Regions from separate parts of the Homo sapiens genome. Here region 2 is linked to region 1. Evidence: promoter capture Hi-C in human tissues and cell types (Jung and others, 2019). All regions are on one chromosome and are shown on one strand. The core of a region is centred on a gene start or on the middle of the fragment in contact, and the rest is flanking DNA. Distances in the headings are between cores, read along the strand shown.

Region 1 (3,209 bases), core at 494-2,993:
ATTTCAATCTGAAATATGCTAATCCAGATTCTACCTCTTAGCAACTGTGATGCCTGTGACTTACGACTTTTCTTCAGAAACAACTGAATGGTAAATTCACATCTTTGCAAATGCCACTAAGAATTTGGAACCATACACCAGCCCTCATACTAAATCCTACTACTTTTTCAAAAAACAACAAACAAAACTCAAGCTGCTGATTTAATTCAGAGCATTTTTGAACGGAGAGCATTTGAAAGAAGAAAATGGAAATTCTCTCTGGGGAATCTCACTTTTATCTCAGCCCTGAAGAATGTCCCCACACAAAGCTATACAAAAGGAGTAGTTCACAGTCAAAAAATAAGTAAACCTACAAGGAAACAGAGAATCAGGAGAGAAAAGCAGCTGAGATCACAGAAAGCAGACACAGGCTGCAATAATGGGATTACAGACACAAACCGTGGGAGGGCAATAGTTTAATTAAAGGCAAGCTTGAAAATGCACGCAGGACCAAGTGATGGACACAGAGTGAGAGGGGTCACCCTGAGCGATTTCAAATGGGAACTGCCCAACCCGCCCCATTCCCAGGCCCTGCCCCCCACGCCCCTCCCCCCCACGCCCCTCCCCCCTCCCCCTCCCCTACACTCCTCCCCACGCCCCCCACGCCCCTCTCCACACCCCTCCCCCATGCCCCTCTCCACACCCCTCCCCCACGCCCCTCTCCACACCCCTCCCCCACGCCCCCCACGCCCCTCTCCACACCCCTCCCCCATGCCCTCCTCCACACCCGTTTCTGCCCCATGCCCCTCCCCCACGCCCCTCCCCCCTCCCCCTCCCCTACACTCCTCCCCACGCCCCCCACGCCCCTCTCCACACCCCTCCCCCATGCCCCTCTCCACACCCCTCCCCCACGCCCCTCTCCACACCCCTCCCCCACGCCCCCCACGCCCCTCTCCACACCCCTCCCCCACGCCCTCCTCCACACCCCTGTTTCTGCCCCACGCCCCTCCCCCACGCCCTCCTGGCCGTCTCTGGGGCGGTCCTGAATCGCTGCCGGCCAGGGCCCGCCCTGCCCCATAGGAAGGGACCCTGGGGGCGGGGCTGCCTCGGCTTCGCCCCCAGGAAACCACGTGGCCTGGGGCGGCCCGACGCCGGCTGCGCTGGATCCACGCCGAAAGATGGGCGCCCGAGCCGGGAGGGAAGCCTGGGGAGGACACCTGGGGGGCACGGCCCTGACCACGCTCAGACCCAAGAGGGCGGGGAGGGGCGCAGGGCGCGTGGGGGGCGCGGGCGCACTTACTCGAGCTCCTTGAAGCGCTCGCGGCCCGCCGCCACGTACTTGCCGCCCGCCTGCAGCGCGTCCAGCCCCAGCACCCGGTGCCCACGCGTGGGCGTGAAGAGGCGGCGCACGCCGAACGGGACGTCCACCTGCTCCGTGAGCTGCTCCAGCAGCGCCTCGAAGGTGGCCGCGCGGCGCCGCGACAGCACGAACTTCTTGCCCACGTAGAACGGGTCCCCGTTGCGGTACACCACGATGGTCTTGGCGGGCGTGGTGTCCACCGGCGCGGAGGGCCCGCGGGTTCCCATAGCCGCGCCCCGCTCCTCGCTCGCCGGGGCCGAGAGGCTGCGGCAGCGCGGGCAGCGACGCCTGCAGAGCCGCGCCCAGGCCCGGGCACCGCCGACGGGAGGTCCGCTCCAGCCGCTGGCGCAGGACGGGGACGGGACGGGGACGGGACGGGGGCTGGACGGGGACGGGACGGGGCTGCCAGGCGGGCGGAGGCTGCGTGTTGACGCGACCCTGGGCGATTGTGACCGCCTGGCCGCCAGGGCGAGGGGCTCGGGGCCGGGGCAGGAGACGGGGCGACGGGGAACCCGGGCAGGTGAGCAGGCGGCACGGGGCAGGGACAGGTGATTGGGTAATGGGGAGCCCAAGCAGGTGAGGCGCGGCACAGGGCGGAGACAGGTGAGGGGGCAACGGGGAGCCCGGGCAGGTGAGGGGCGTGGCGGCAGAGCTCAGGAAAAGAGGAGGAGGAGGCGGCTAGCATGATTGTGCTGAGCGCCCCGGGACGCCCACCGTGCCTCCTCCCCCTACACTCGCCGCCTTCCTCTGTAGAAGCGGTAGAGAGGAGGGTTAGGGAGGGACCAGGACCATCTTGACAATCAACATTGGATGGGTGCTGGGATCTGCTTCACATTTTTTGAGCCTCTGTTTCTTTGATCTTAGGTTGAATTTGACCGGTTCAGCCCCAGTGTCTTCCAGGACTCCTGGCCCAGAGTGGGGAATTTGAGCTTTTCCACCAGAGGAGGAGGTGTGCAGAGCCACTGGGAGGCCGTGAGGAACCGCGCTATAGCCGCTGGTGTGCGGTGTCAGGCGCGTGCCATTCAGAACGCATCCTCATTGGGGAATGATTCAAAGGGAGAGGGGGTCTTTGGAAGAATCGTTCCTACTCTGGGTAAAGATAGGCCAGTCCCCTTGAGTGATTCTAGACAGTCAGTAGGCTACATGTTACGGCTGGAAGTCCACACCGAAGGTACAGATATTGATATTATGAGTATTAATATCTTATAATGTTCAAAAAAAGTAGTTCCGTAGAGACCACCAGTCACAGCCATAGCCAGTATGTAAGCTACTAAATGCCTCATAGCAACATTAAATACAGAGATCAATTTGTGAGACGACCACTTTATTAAATCACCAGGTGTTCAAAACATTTGAAAAGAAGACTATGACTGGGAAATTACTGCTGTGTGTCCGACACCGGGGCTTTGTGTGTGTTAAGGGTTTGCTTTGAAGCTCACCGAGAACTTCAACATGGGCTTCTCCCGGGGCCTCAGGAGGCAGATGGAGCTGGGGAAGCCCCGGAGCCGAAGGCGGCTCACTCCCCCGTCGGGGACGATGGTGAGCCTGGCGTGAGTGATGACATCTTGGAGCTCTAGGGTCAGGCTATCGAACAGATGACTTTGGTTGGGAGACAACTGAAAAGCAAGCAGATGCAGAGGTCCTAGTCTGTTAACAGGACATGTGTGGCCGAATGAGCCCACGGCCCGGGCAAACCTTTGGCTTAGACTTAACCGAAGGGGCTTTAAAATAAGTTATTAATTGATGATAATTGGGCTTTCCATGAAAATCTGCTAGTAGGGATAGGATGCCCAAATAATACATGAATAAGCAGGCCCCAATAAACAATTGATGGGCAACCTAAATGCCCATCAGTTGTTTCTAATAGTTG
Region 2 (3,511 bases), core at 579-3,078, 1.6 Mb after region 1:
TAGGGGAGGGTGATTAAAATGGCTACTCGGGATGAAGAGTTTAAAATGATGAGGAGTTTGAGGCAGCTGATCAATTTAATCAAAGTGCAATTGCTTTGGGAAGGACTGCCTCTTTGAAAGGATTAATGCATACAGCAAGGTAACAGAGGAGATGTGCTGTCAAGGTTTTTATATTGCTATAAATTCTAACTTTGAATATATTTGTGACTTTGTAGCCATTAATTTGGGGTATTATAATTATTTTAAAATTTTTTTAATCTTTGATTTGAATAGTGTAGCTATAACTATACTACTATAATGTGATGAGGTTTTAGAAGTACATTTGATTTTTTTGTTTGTTTTCTTTTTTTGAAACAGGATCTTGCCCTGTAGCCCAGGCTGGAGTGCAGTGGCACTATCATGGCTCACGGCAGCCTCAATCTTCCGGGCCCAAGTTATGCTTCTACCTCAGTGTCTTAAGTAGCTGGGACCACAGGCGTGTGCCACCAAGACTGGCTACCATTTTTATTTTTCTAGAGATGGCCTCTCCCTATGTTTCCCAGGCTGGTCTCCAACTCTTGGTCTCAAGTGATCTTCCCAACTTAGCCTCTCAAAGTGCTGGGATTTCAGGCAGGCACAAGAGTCACTGTACCTGGTCATACACTCATTTCTTAATTTTGACTTTATTACATCTAAACACCAAAATACTTTAATCAGGAATCGTTTCATATTTCATAATGAAAATAAATGAGGAAAAGTTATTTCATTGAAAATTTTACTTTCCAACAAGCTTTTCTGAAATGTATTTTTATTTCACTAAAATAGAAATATCTGTCTTTTTCTACATTAATTCTATTAGATATGTTATATGTTTCATAATATTCTCAGTGATTTCATCTAAACAGTTGAAGATTGTCAATAACTTATATTGTTTCTAATTCAGAATTGTATAGATTATTGCACTGAAAAAACTCACAAAAAACTCCCTGAGCAATATCTTAAAGTCTCCTCTCTGTACACAGATACTTTCAGTCTCCCTCAGGGAGGTCATGATAATTATGTCCTTGATGTGTTCATCCTGGGAAACCTACACCGTATCTACATTTCAGGATGTCAGAGTCCTTCCCTCCACCTGATCTTGAAAACTTCACTTCCCCATGTTCTCCTGGACAACTTCTATCCTGTTAACAACTGGAAATCATCAAACCTTACTGTGATGGTGTGGACTCCATTTCACCTGCTGTTAGGACACAGTCTCCCAAGCAAGGTACTCAGGGGGTCTGAAGCTAGGTCTTGAGCTGGCTCCAACTCAACCAGGTCTAGGCACTGACCTCGTGTTTGCCCCAAGTGGCTTCTGGGAGTGAAGAGGAATAATGTGAAGTCTGCCCATCGTATGTGGTTTCACACTTGCCATTTTCTATAGCCCCTTTCTCTGGGCTTCTCCCCTCCTCAGTTCTGCTGTCAATACTTAAAGAATACAGATATCACATACAAACTGACCTGTGTGTCTAAAGAGCTTAGTTTTAAATAATGGGTATTAAACAACCTTTTGTTCAAGGCTCTCTACATTAAATTTCTAGAGATTCTTATGTGTCCGATCTCATGGCATGAATATCTAGTGTTAACATCTTTAGTGTAGACAGCCTCAAGCAAGGAGACCTGTAGAGATATGTTAGGAATTATCAAGGAAACGTGGTTTTTATGTTGTTTGTTTTGTTTTTTTTGAGACAGAGTTTCACTCTTGTCACCCAGGCTGGAGTGCAATGGTGCAATCTCAGCTCACTGTAACCTCTACCTCCCAGGTTCAAGCGATTCTCCTCCCTCAGCATACCGAGTAGCTGGGATTACAGGCACGTGTCATCACTCCCAGCTAATTTTTATATTTTTAGTAGAGACAGGGTTTCATCATGTTGGCCAAGCTGGTCTCAAACTCCCGACCGCAGGTGATCCACCCACCTTGGCCTCCCAAAGTTCTGGGATTACAGGCGTGAGCCGCTGCGCCTGGCCATGTTCTTTTTTTTAATCCAAGTTCATGTCATCTGGCTCAGAATCCAGTTCTTGGCTGTATGCTCTGGGGGCACAGGCACCCCTAGTCAGGAGCCCAGGAGGCAAAGCACACAAAGACCCCCGACAGGTCAGAAGGCCCCGCCCATGTGAAAAGGGTTTCCAGGAGGCTTTCTAATGCTGTCTTGTTAAATATGAACAGATAATGAAGATCTCTAGATGTTCGTGCAAGCCCTGTAATATAAAAAGGACCCAAACAAACAAAAAAGAAGAAAATAAAGACTGTTGAAGAGAAACAAAGAAGTTATCATTGACTTTGTCTGAGTCACAGAAGAGAAGCTACATTGGGTTTGCTGAATGAGAACACATTTATTTTAAGTAGAAGAAGGAGAAGATGAGTTGAATCACTAAGAGATCACTTAGAAATTTAAAGATGAGTGTTGAAATTTAAATTTAAAAAATCTCACAAGAGAGGTGAGAAGATAAAGGAAATCTGATTAGAACAAAATGGCAAAGGGATGGAAAATAAGATTGGAGGGTCTGTCCAGCTCCCGCAGGACCATTGGCTGAATCGTGTAAGTTCCAGAAAGAGATCAGAGAAAATGGAGAGAAAACAACCACTGAAGAAAGCAGGGAAGACGATGGCCCTTGAAAAGCTGAAGGATATGTCACATGATGGGAGAAAACAGATCTACACACCCCCTCATTCTTGGGAAATACTAAAACACTAGAAGCAAAGAGAAAATTATGACGACTCTGGGCATGAGGGTCTAGGGGAAAGGATTCAAAGAATCCTCAAGAGGTAAGAAGACGAGGGAGAAACGCCATCAGACCTCCAGGGAAGTTCTCTCTCATCTAGACTGTTTTGCTCAGACAAATATTAGTTGGGTGTCAAGACAAAAATAGACATTTTAACATTGAGGAATCATTAAAAATCTCCCAACAACCTTTCCATAGGAAGCGTGGGATTATGTCTTCCACCAAATCAAACAAAGAAACAGAAAACCAACAACAAGTAAATCAAGACAGAGGAAGACAGGGATGCAGCAAAAAGGAGAGAGATTACAAGAGATGGGGCAGGGACTGGGTGATGGCCAAGGGGCATCATTACAGCCCAAGCTTTCAAGAGAACCAGTGTGGACGAGGCCAGATGGGAGGACACGGACGGCTCCCTGAGACTTTACACAGAACACCAAATTGATACCTAAGCTGTTCTTCCCTAAGAAGAAGATAGGACGTAATTGGGAATTTGGGATAGAGTCATGATAAGTACATAGGACAGCGTGTGTACATGGACACAATTATATTAATTGCAGGGTAGTAATGTGCAGATAAGAAACATAGTATTAATGTGTGGTTCATCTGGCAATAGTCTCTTCATAGTTATGACAGTAAAGCATTTCCTAATAATCTCATGTATTGCCCAGTACAACCATGCTGGGGGCAGAAACTGTGAGAAGGGCTTGGGCGTGGAGCGCATTAGTGCACCTCCCTGTTCCCCTAGATGAGACGTGGAAGTTCAGTGCTT

What was found. The method cuts DNA at HindIII sites, captures the fragments that hold promoters and counts their contacts. A contact is called where the count stands out against the background at its distance.
Region 2: a fragment that was not itself captured here is called in contact with the fragment with the promoter of DCDC2C in region 1 in 1 of the 25 tissues and cell types used here (IMR-90 fibroblasts).

What each region holds. Positions count from the first base shown.
Region 1 is chr2:3,702,109-3,705,317 of GRCh38, reverse strand. It overlaps DCDC2C (doublecortin domain containing 2C), which reads right to left and starts at 1,743. Exons shown (of 11, transcript NM_001287444.2): 1 at 1,280-1,743. The coding sequence starts at 1,566. ALLC (allantoicase) reads right to left here. Exons shown (of 12, transcript NM_018436.4): 12 at 2,647-2,955. The coding sequence ends at 2,755. LOC105373393 (a long non-coding RNA gene) reads left to right here and starts at 1,818. Exons shown (of 3, transcript XR_922732.1): 1 at 1,818-1,859; 2 at 2,204-2,510; 3 at 2,679-2,758. The HindIII fragment of the contact is 5,865 bases long and covers 1-3,209 here.
Region 2 is chr2:2,062,037-2,065,547 of GRCh38, reverse strand. The region is part of intron 3 of MYT1L (myelin transcription factor 1 like); the gene reads left to right. Among named protein-coding and RNA genes, the nearest start is that of MYT1L-AS1, 260 kb to the left of the region's middle. The HindIII fragment of the contact is 5,658 bases long and covers 1-3,511 here.